Linked DNA regions of Homo sapiens: region 1 is linked to region 2. The links are contacts of gene promoters, found by promoter capture Hi-C in human tissues and cell types (Jung and others, 2019). All regions are on one chromosome and are shown on one strand. Each heading gives the region's core, a stretch centred on a gene start or on the middle of the fragment in contact. The rest is flanking DNA. Distances are from core to core; before and after follow the strand shown.

What was found. The method cuts DNA at HindIII sites, captures the fragments that hold promoters and counts their contacts. A contact is called where the count stands out against the background at its distance.
Region 1: a contact is called between a fragment that was not itself captured here and the fragment with the promoter of ADAM12 in region 2, in 2 of the 25 tissues and cell types used here (bladder and dorsolateral prefrontal cortex).

Annotation. Positions count from the first base shown.
Region 1 is chr10:126,431,001-126,436,634 of GRCh38, reverse strand. The region is part of intron 7 of C10orf90 (chromosome 10 open reading frame 90); the gene reads left to right. LOC728158 (a long non-coding RNA gene) reads right to left here. Exons shown (of 7, transcript NR_148989.1): 2 at 2,818-3,059; 3 at 1,509-1,573. Among named protein-coding and RNA genes, the nearest start is that of LINC00601, 12 kb to the right of the region's middle. The HindIII fragment of the contact is 3,343 bases long and covers 1,870-5,212 here.
Region 2 is chr10:126,387,035-126,392,899 of GRCh38, reverse strand. ADAM12 (ADAM metallopeptidase domain 12) reads left to right here and starts at 4,423. Exons shown (of 23, transcript NM_001288973.2): 1 at 4,423-4,842. The coding sequence starts at 4,755. The HindIII fragment of the contact is 8,947 bases long and covers 2,895-5,865 here.

The sequences.
Region 1 (5,634 bases), core at 2,292-4,791, 45 kb before region 2:
GCAGAGGAACCAAATCTTAGCACAAGTAGCTTGTCCCAAAGCACATAGCACCAAGCAAAGGCCTAAGGTGACTTGCCAGGTTTTTAGACTTATACGTAACAAGACTTTATCATTTTATGGAGGCTCAGGCAAGCCAAAGAAATCATCATATATACATCATAAAAGTATGATGTTTAATTTTCTAATGCTCATTTTTTTTTGTAAAAAGAAAGAAACTGAATTTCCTGTTGTGTTTAGTGAGGTCATTAAGAATTTGAATCATTAAATCCTAGAGACTGGGTATAGCTGCCCATCTTTCAGCTGATTTGCCTTCAAATTCAACAATGTGCTCATTGCAGAAAATAGTCTGTACCACTTTGTCAGCCACTGCTGAGCTCCCCTAGGAGGAAATGCATGTTTTGGGCAACTGACAGGAGTCCTCCGCTGGGATTCATATTGTAAGTTTCTGGTCTTGGGTAAGAGTCTGGTTAGTTTGAGAGTCTCTGATCCTGTCAACATTGGGGTACTGAATTTGCACAGGTAGAGCTGGTTGTTCCGTGGGTCTTTGGCACTACGGGCAACCTGAATTAGGAGGTGATGTGTGCCAGCCTTCCTTAGCAGTTCCTATAGGTTTTATGGGGAACCCTTTGTCTCTTACTGGATCTCTTGAGGAGTAACCAGCCAAGAAATAAAAATATTAAGCACTGGGTCTCTTTTGACCATAGGGATGGAGTGCAAGTGGGAAAAGGCAGGGATATTAGGGGCTGAGAAGAGACTTTCCTGTCTTCCAGGAGTTCATGTGCCACTTGGGGAGAGAGTTGGCCAGGCAGACAGCTGTAAACCACGTCTAGAATCATAAAGGAGAAGACCCCTAGGGAGTCAGGAAGTGAAGGGGACTGAGGACAGTGCTCTTGGATCCAAGAGATAGAGCAGCATGGGCTCAGGGAGTACATCAAGACTCCATTTCTCTCCAAAAATGTTTTTCATAGATATGGTTGACTTGGAGGTCTGGGATCCTCCAGCTGGGGAAGCAAAGCTCTGGTCCTGTGCCTCATCTGCCATATTGTATCAGGGGTCTCTCCTTGGAAGATCTGGGGAGGCTTGTGGCTGCCAGTGTTCATGGTGGGGCGTTCTCTTCACCACCTCCCCACCAAGGGTGCAGACCCTTTATGAAATCCATCCAGTAGCTCCAAAGCACCCTATCTTTCCATGGAAGCTGCAAGATGGTGACCTGACTCTGAGCTCAAGCTCAAGGGTAAGTCTCTGTGTGCAAGAGAATGATCTACCTTCCTTAACCAGGAAGCCCTATACACCTTGCTTCTCAAACTGAGTATGCAAAAGGAAACAGATTTTTCTGGAGACTCTCTGGCTTATTTTTTATTTAATTTTATATTCCTTCACCAGAAAGGTCTGAGAGCTTATTGTCTTTCCAGATTGTTACATCAGCAACTCTCTCATGTGTCTGGACAGTAATTGGCACATGGCATCACTTTCATATCAATACCAACAACTGTGTGGCTTCCACTTACCTGACAGGGTTCTGAAACAAGCTGCTATGTGCAACGGTCATTCAGCAGTGGGATTCCACAGATGGCTAGAAGTGATTTTAGAAACAGGATAATGTTTAGAAAATGAGAGTCCAGCATAAGATTTTATCATGAGAGCACTTCAGAGCCAAACCACCTATGAGTCGTTAACTCACCTTCATATGGTGTAACCTGTGCTGTTTAATTTCTGGAGGGCTAATTTGGTTCAAGATAGACCACTCTCCTATTGCCTACATCAAGAAAATTAGAGGGTCCACCATGGTGAGCTGAACAGAAATGTTCAAGTTTAAACCCTGAGAACCGTGATGGAATTACTCTAACGGCCGGCGGCAGAGACCTAGTGACTTTGGAATTGCATAATGCACAGCCTTGTGATCTTAGAATTCACACATGTTGGGGGTTCCCTTAAACACAACCCATTTCCATTCTTTGTGAAGGTCCAATCTTTAGTAGGAGATTCAGGAAGGTAGAGACTTGACGTCTATACTCCAGGCTGGCTTATTGACTCCCTGCTGAATTCTCTCCAACGGGTATCTCTTGGTTTTGGTGTTTCTAAGATAGGGGAAGCAAATGTCTAAAACATCCTTCAAAGTGCTCGGGGTGACTTCAGAAAATAGGCTTCTGGAAAGCATTGTCCTAATAAATCGTGTGAACTTGATTATCATTTAGATTACCTCTTCAGTAGGGAAAATGAAGTTTGCAATCAGAGCTGTAGATAAGGGCTCTGCATGGAGGAAAAACAGCCCAGCTCCAAAAACAACGAATCATGCTGGTGGCAGGGTGATCTTTGCTGCCTTCTGGTGACACTGTCAACTGTCTGAATATTGAGGCCACTTGTCCTTGTGTATGTGTGTGCACAGAGGTGATATGAGGATTACAATAAACACCCACATGTGTTTATAGAGATTAATGGGATGTCTGGGCTTTGACCTTACCTGAGTAGTTCTCAGAAGCACTGAAATCTTGGTACCTGGTTGTTTGCTGACTTTGACACAGGCAAGGGCTTGAGGAAGTCTGGCCTTACCAAGTTAAATTAGCAATAGACACTGTAGTTTGGATCCAATAATGAGGCAGATGCAAGACTTTTTGGGGAAAAAAGTATTTTCCAGAAATATAGAAATAGGCAATTTACCTTAGTAATTTTACTGGGGGAAAACACCACCTCTATTTGAATGATAATTCGAGGTAAACACAACTGTAGTCTCTTCCCTCCATATCAGGGAATTAGAACACATGAAACTTCAAGGAAAATCTGTAAGAGACCCATAAGCAAGCTGAAAATGGTTCTCACCTGCCACTTTAATTTTATACAGGCAGAATTTCCATTAAGAGTAATTTTATAGATAGGATTTCTCTGTTTTGTTTTGTTTTGTTTTCGTTTTGTTTTGTTTTGTTTTCAAACAAAGCTCATGCAGGTTGGTTTTGCATTCCATGAAGTGAAATCCCTGTGGGTCATGCTGTACATATCCTGAAGGCAATTGCGCCAGGCCGGGGAAGATGGTGGCGTGCAGGTAGTCATGAGAGTCTTCTACCCTGTACAGGAAGAAACTGAGTTGTGGGACCAGGAGAGATGAATCAAGGATGACTCATCTCTTGCTGCAGGCAGGTCTATGTGACCCTGGGCTGCCGTTTCACCCACCCCTACCAACCACAGGCTATTGGGGTATGTCTCTCTCTACTTCATGACCCAGCTCAGCTGTCTCCTGTTATGGAGTTTTCCCAGATGCCCTTCTTCCCTGGTGGACCTGACCACTCCCTCCTGATGTCTCCCCTCACCATGTGCAGACTTTGCTCTTGGCATCTAAAGGCCTTATTTACCTCATTCTCATCCTGGGCTCTGAGCTCTTAGTTTTATTTATCTTCATGTCCCTATCGCTTAGCACCAAGGAGATAAAAACTTTACAATTGTCAAATGAATGGGTTTGCTTAAACCCAAAGCCTGGGAGTCATCCTTGATTCATCTCTCCTGGCCCTTACAACTCAGTTTCTACCTGTACAGGGTAGAAGAGTCCCATGGCTACCTGCACGCTGCCATCTTTCCCCACCTGGCTGCAATTGCCTGACCTATCTCACTGCTGCCATTTTTGCATCTCCTCCACCCAGTTCATGTTCTGAAGAGCCACTGTGGTCATCTTTTAGCAATAAAAATCAGATCTCATGTTTAAAACTCCACATGGCTCTCCAACTCTCTTACTCTGAAGGCAACTCCTTAACAGGATTGCAAAGCTCCTTAAATAGGTTTGCAAAGGCCAACGTGGGTGGTTTCCTATTCTAGGGCATGTTGGAGTCATCTGGAGACTTTGGTTGAGATTCCAATGCCAACACACAGGAATCTTTGCCAAAATCCCCAGGCAGCTGTAAGGCATCACCTGGGTGGAGAACCAAAGTAATCTTCGCTCTCGCCTCTGCACCCTCCCTCCCCGCACAGCCACGATGACCCACTTTCAGTTCTTACTGCAGAAGCTCACTGTGCCCTTCTCCCAGATCCTCCCACAGTTGGCTCTTTGGTCATTCGGGTCTTGGTTTAAATATCTCCTCCCCTGCGGGGACTTCTTGCCTCTCCATTCCCCCTTTGACACATGGTGGCATTTCATTTTCACCAGAGCATTTGCCGGATACTTTAGCTGGTTTTTGACTTGTCCAGCTTCTCCCAAAATAAATGAAATCTCATGAAGGGACGGTCTTATCTGTTATTTTTGTTTCTGAGCATCCCCTACCAACATAACTGCTCGTTAAATGTAGAAGGAAGGAGAAAGGCATATCTAAGAAATGAATTTTGGATTGGTCTCATGGGAAATGGAGGAGTTCTTGGTCAGGGCTCCCAAAACACAATTTCTGCAACCACGAGCCACTTTCTCTCTCAAAGTGCCCAAAGCTGCTCCAGTGAGTTGTGTTCCTCTCACTCAAGTGAGGTTGGGAGCTGTTTGCAATGCACTTGCTCTATTTCAAACCACTTCCTCATGTCTCTTTCCTCCAGGCTAGGAAAGACCCTGCTATTTATCAGATGAGCTTGGGAACCATTAGGAAAACTCAAAGTCAGAAGCAATCAACCTGCAAATACTTCCCCGGGGGTATGGGTTGAGGTCACCAGCAGGGGAAGCCCCCTTGGACACAGTCCTGCTTGTTTTGCACCTAACATGGGCTGCTGGGCCCAGAATCAAAAGTTCTGTGTGGCACAGCAGGCTGAGCCGAGTTGAGGAAACACAAGAGTGGAGGTGTCAGAGAGCTCACATTTGCTGTTGTTTCCTCTTGGGAATCAAACCCAAGCTTAATTGTGGTATCAGGTGCTCTAAAGAAACAAACTGAAAAAAAAAGAAAGAAAAGAAAATCTAACTTCCCAGAGTAGACCACAAACAGTTGAACCAAGATGATCAAAATCTTACAAAGGGTATTGGTAATGTTTTTAATCTCCTCAGGACACCGTCTGTCTACCCTGGCCTCACCCTAATCTTGAGTAGCCCATGAGGATTGCTGAGCTGGACTTGAATCTAATTCTTTGTACAAGGTTTCTTTTCCCTAAGTGGAATAAGTGACTGTCAAGAGTCACATATTTGCTTGAGCAAGGGCCTGACTGATGGAAGCTGACATTTCCTTTTTTCTTGGAAATGCCATTGGGATGTTTCTGTGGCCCTTGGCTCTGACCTGGTGCTGCCTGGAGCAGGGACCGCTGGATACTGGGAAGCATCTTGGCCCATTGCAGTCTCCATGGTGATGTTGTTTTCTCACTGCTCCTTCTTACAAATTGCTCTAGGGAAAGCTGGGAGATTTCCTTGTCCTTAGAGGCCTCATACCTAGTGTAGGGATTTTTCTATGAGAGGAGTGACCTTGCACCCTGGCACTTCTCTCCAGAAGACCATGATTCTGTTGCTAAAAAGAAGCATTCAAAGGCATTGTTCTCCATAAAGTAAGTTAAGTGCTAACACTGTACTTCACACCCTTATTTAATTTGTCAAGATTAACCTTGTTTTTGGTCAGTTGTCAATACAGCCACTTAGTTGGAAATATTCCAATTTCTTTTTCTTGTTTCTCCTTTCAATCTTGTCTTTGAAGTTAAGCGATGGTGCCATATTCTTTTTCATGTCTGAATAACCAGACAGGGGACAAGCTT
Region 2 (5,865 bases), core at 3,174-5,673:
CTCGACCTCCCAAAGTGCTGGGATTACAGGCGTGAGCCACCGCACCCGGCCAGCCCTATTTCTTAAATGAAGTATCCTCAAATGTTTGGTCATTCTTGTCATAGTTCATGTTTGTTTTTGAGATTCCCCTTTTCCTTTCGCTGTGTGCTGGCTTTGCACTCAGCCTGCCCCCGCTGATGGCGGGAGAGATAAGCACCTGGTCTAGGAGGCTGTCTCAGCAGCTGCTGCTGCTCCAGGAGGTGTCTGTTTCTCTTAGTACTGTCAGTCACTTGGGGTACGTAAAATGGAATCTGGGGGTGTGTAGGGAGGGGCATAATAAGTTTCCCATCACAGTACAGTCATGAGTCACCAAATGACATTTTGGTCAATCACGTGGTACGCACTTGAGCACTTGTAAGGATGCTCCCATAAAATTATAATGGAGCTTCTCTATCCGGGTGTACCATTTTTTAAAATCTTTTCCACTGTATTTTTACTGTACCTTTCTGCCTTTTTGCTGTACCATTCCCTACAGTATTCAGTGGAGTCATGTGCCATACAGGTTCGTAGCCTAGGAGCAACAGGTTATACCATAAAACCTAGATGTGTAGTAGGCGGTACCACCTAGATGTGTGAGTACACTCTGTGATGTTCACACAGCGACAAAACTGCCTAATGATGCATTTCTTAGAATGTATCTTTGTTAAGTGAAGTATGACTGTCACTTGGTTGGAGAAGTTGACTGGTCAGTGGGTAGGTGACATAGATGAATATAGATGGGGTGACCTTTCCTGTCTCTTGTGACACAGCGCATCCCCGAGTTCCTTGTCCCCAGCCCCAGGAGCATTCTTTCTTTGGCGTTTAGTGCTACTTAAGTGCTAATTCTGTGCAATAATGAAAGCATCAGAGACAAGAGGGTTTAATCTGCCCAGAAGAGGTTCACTGGGGGCAGGTTTCTGAGGAGGTGAAGGCATGGATTCTTGAAGTGAGAGATCTAGGAAAAGAAAAATGGACTACATGTTATTATAATACGCCGAGAGGAGCAGGAGTTTTCATCTCTCCAAGAGATAGAATAAAAATGATTTCCAAGAATCTTAATCTTGGGGTGATCACATTTGTTTACGTTTGGAGTAAGCCTTGGGAACTGTGCTTGGAGAGAGGAAAGCTGTTCTGCAAGCCTGTGTCTGAAGTTCTGTCAATAGGTCACTCTGCAAGGAGGCCGGCTCTTCACTTACTGCAGAAATTAGCAGTGGCTGCCTGTAAATTCCTGGCTTAGGAAAGTTTGTCTCCGTTTTTCATCTGCTTGTACTCAGAGCAGATTGAGCTTACATGAGCTTGGGTAAGAAATAAGTGCCCTGTTCGTTGTGAATGCCCAGGCTGTTAAACGAAAATAGCACACAGGAAACAGTATTGCAAAGGTCAATTCTTCCAGAAAGGAAGGGACAACCAGCCATCTATCTGAAATTTTCGTGTGTAGATCCTGGCCTCTGACCCCACACCATTACCTAACAATCCAGTATTGAATGTGATGTCGGCTTCCATTTCCTGTGAATGAGGAGGCAGAATTTCCATCCAAAGACAGACCATCTGCCAGACGCAGGATTTGCTCTTTGCCTTAGCTGGCTGTTATTGATGTCTATGAAGGCTTTGTGGAGACAGTGTCAGCCCAGGCCGCTTGCTTCACAGAGATGGTGAATTACAGGGTTGAAATCCAGAGCTTGCAGCCAGGATTTTATTTTTCTTCATTTTTCCTCTGCAATGGCTGTTTTCTTTCGTTCAGTCAGAAACAAATCAAGGACAGTCTTGGGGCACATTTAGTTCTTTGGAGGAAGCTTTGCAACATCCAGGTTTAAAAGAAATTGGACTTTTACAGTCAACATTAACAATTGAATATGAAAGAGCGAAAATAAATTGATCATTAAGAGAAAATGTATACAAGGCCCCCAGCCCAGTGCACAGCACATGTTAGGTCCATTGTGAATAAACCATTTAACCAGTCAGAAGGATCCGAGAGGCCAGTGGCTGGGCTCATCTGCAAGCAAATCTGGCCCTTTGAGCTGGAAGAAAACAATTTTTAATTCTCTTGCGTCGATGTGTCTGAAGTTCTATGGGCCACAAGTATCAGGATCACCTAAGTACTTGCTAAAACTTGTCCTTCCCAGACCTTTCTAATGAGAATCTCCAGTGCAAACGCCAGAGGAATTGAATTCTTAACAGACATCCCAGGGATCAGGTGGGTTGGGAGACATTGCATTATTTCACCTGGTGCTCACAACCACCTGGGAGGTTTGTATTTTACCTTCACTTAACAGCTGCTAAAACTGAAGGTTGGAACTCAGCCTTAAAGAAACAGGCTTTATCTTTAACAGATCTGAGGTTGGGCTCTGACCTACTTCACTGTGTGGTGGTGGGAAAGCTACATCTCTATGCTGCAGTTTCCTCATCTGTATATTCAGGACTTAAAAAATGAAATAATGCAGGTGAAAGACGTTAGCACAATACTCCGATTATACGAGGTATGTAATGAATTATGAAGTAGTAAATAGTCTGTTTTCGTGCTGCTGATAAAGACATACACAAGACTGGGTAAAATTATACAGGAAAAACGTTTAATGGACCTACATTTCCACATGGCTAGGGCAGAAGACATGAAGGGGCAAGTCATGTCTTACATGGATGGTAGCAGGCAGAAAGTGAGAGAGAGCTTGTGGAGGGGAACTCCTCTTTTTAAAACCATCAGATCTTTTGAGACTTATCCACTACCATGAGAACAGCACAGGAAAGACCTGCCCCCATGATTCAATTACCTCCCACCAGGTCCCTCCCACAACACATGGGAATTCAAGATGAGATTTGGGTGGGGACACAGCCAAACCATATCAGTAAACAAGCCTAATCATTATTAACTAGGTTAAGTAACTAGCTCACACTGTCCAATAATGATGATTTATCAGTTTGATCAGAAAGAAAAGTCTTTGAAGGCAAGAGGCTTTCTCGTTTAGTTTCCCAAGTTCTAACATAGGGTTGCTCATGTAGATTGACTGAATGAATGAACAAAAGAAGTACACTGCAACGCTGGTTGGTAGTACGGTTAGATATGACACAGGGCTTGAACCAGGCCTGGTTTCCAGATCTGGTACTGAGATATGGCAGCATTGGGAAGGGGGCTGGAGAGCCTGTGCTTCCCACTAAGGTTTTTTAAAAAGAAAGTCCTGCACCTTGTTAGGAGGATCGACCTGGGTTTTGGGAACACTGCAAAACCTGCCGTGGGAGGGAACTCCTGAGAAAACTCCTCTGCAGTGGGAAGAGATGGTATGGAAGGCAGCTTCCTCAAATGCTGGATAACCGCCTCCTAGGAGTGGGTGCTCCGTCAGGAATCGGTGCGAGGTCGCAGGACCAGGATGGAATTTCTGCAGGTGGTCCTAGGTCTGAGCAGCACAGTAGAATCACCTGAGGCTTTGAAAACTATTGAGCTCCACGCATTGTGGGAAACTGAGTTAACTGGTGTCTGGGGCTGGCAATGTCTTTAACTCTTACTATTCTAATAAGTCCCCAAGGTTGGGAATCATGGTAACCCGCAGGGTGGGCATCAGCCATCCTCCATAGCTCCAGCCATTTCTGTCTGTGCGGGCCCCCTCGCTGCTGCTTTTCATGGTCTCCCTGAGGGCCGAGCGAGGCTGAAGAGGTGGGGTCAGCCCGGAACAAGGATGAGAAGGCAAGGCGCACCATTCTTTCATTGGTGTTTCTCCAAACACCCTGGGCTCCCCTGGCCTCACAGCCTGGAGAGTCTCATTCTGAAAGCGTAGGAGGGCGCCCGGGAATCTTTTTAACAAGCCAACCCAGGTGCTTCTTACAATCAGGAAAGTTTGGGGAACGTCACTGTACACCCTTTTCTGGGTCCAGGTCATGGAATGGAAACGTGAGCCAATCTATCAACGTAAAACCTAACACTGTTGATCAAAAGTAACGCCCAGGTGTCTTGTGCCTGCGAGTCCAAGCTTGTTTCTCGGGCGAGAGATGCCCCTTTGGGCGCTTAGGGCCGGGCGGGGTCGCGCGCCGGGCTGTGGGCCGCGGTGGAGACCTGACCCGCACTCCGAGGGTTCCCAGAGAGCCGGGGAGCGAGTAGCAGAGTCATCGTTTCCAGCTTCAGCCTGAAAAGCTGGACCGTGCCGCCGCATGTGCGCTTGGCAGCCGGGCGCCCCGGGCCCTGCGGCCACATCATCCTGGGGCGGGGACGTGTGCGCTCCGGGCGCCCGGACGCCACTGAGCCACGTCTGAGCCGCCCACCCTCGGGGGTGAGCGAGCCGCGGCTCGGGGCGGGACCCTGGCGGGGGGACCCGAGCGGTCTCTAGGACCCGCGGGACGCCGCCAACTGGCGGGGGTGCGGGGGAGACAATAATTTGTTCCGCGGTAATAAGAACGGTGACTGCTGGCCGTGGATCCATTTCACAGGCCTGCCTTCTCTCACTAACGCTCTTCCTAGTCCCCGGGCCAACTCGGACAGTTTGCTCATTTATTGCAACGGTCAAGGCTGGCTTGTGCCAGAACGGCGCGCGCGCGCGCACGCACGCACACACACGGGGGGAAACTTTTTTAAAAATGAAAGGCTAGAAGAGCTCAGCGGCGGCGCGGGCGCTGCGCGAGGGCTCCGGAGCTGACTCGCCGAGGCAGGAAATCCCTCCGGTCGCGACGCCCGGCCCCGGCTCGGCGCCCGCGTGGGATGGTGCAGCGCTCGCCGCCGGGCCCGAGAGCTGCTGCACTGAAGGCCGGCGACGATGGCAGCGCGCCCGCTGCCCGTGTCCCCCGCCCGCGCCCTCCTGCTCGCCCTGGCCGGTGCTCTGCTCGCGCCCTGCGAGGCCCGAGGTAAGTCGCCGAACTAGGGCGGCTCGCTGCCCGCCCCGCCGAGGGCACCGCACGCTGCGCCTGGGCGCGCCGAGGTCCAGGGCTGCCCCGAGGGGCGACGCGCCCCGGCGCATCTCCGGAGCCCCGGGGCTTGCGCTTCCAGCGCGGCGAGACCGACCCCCCCCCCCCAGGTGCCAATTCCTTGGGGAAGGGCGACACTTGGCCCGCAGCCCCACAGGAGCCAGTACCTGCCCCGGAGGGCACAGCCTCGGGACCGCTCCCCCGTCCTCACCCTCTTGGGTGACATTTGCAGATGTCTCTGTATCTTGACATTTACACGTGTCACTCGGGACGATGCGTGTCGGGTCCTCTTGCTGGCCCTATCCCGCAGTGAATATCCCCACCCCAGGCTCCGGGCCAGCCCTTCACCAGGTTTCCTTTCCAGCCCCGCCTCCCCCGCTAACACACTTAGGGGGGCGCGCAGCGGCCCCGCAGGTGAGGCAGCCCCCTCCTCCGCAGGTGTGCCTGCTGCTCTCCACAGCAGGCTCTATTTTCATAAACTGACTCTCTTACCTACTTCTTTAGTTTCCTCTCTGCCCCTCTTCCTGGCTTCCAGGTCACTCCCTAGCTGTCAGTCGCAGGCAAACTTTAGCGGAATTCTCCCTCCTTCCTCCACTCAGTTTCTCCGCCGTAAATAATCGCCCCCATCAACTTGGTGCACAGCGAGAACTTACTTAGTTTAACGTACTTAGTTTTACAGACTTAGGTTTTCCCGAGTTGTAGCCCCTTAAAATCGGGCACCTGTGGCTCCCGTTTGCACAGTGAGGACTCACCCAGCAGGTGCCTTTTTAAAAATCCGGCAACTTCCCCGGGTCTCCGCCGCCGCCGCCTTCTTTCTGCCGCCCGGGGCGCTGTCGGTCCACCGATGAACGACTTCCCTTGGCCGCAAGCTCTCAAGTTCTGTGATTCTATATAACAGGCATTTATTTTTCAACAACTGGCCTAAATCACGAACCGTTACCACTTTATGATACGTTTTATTTT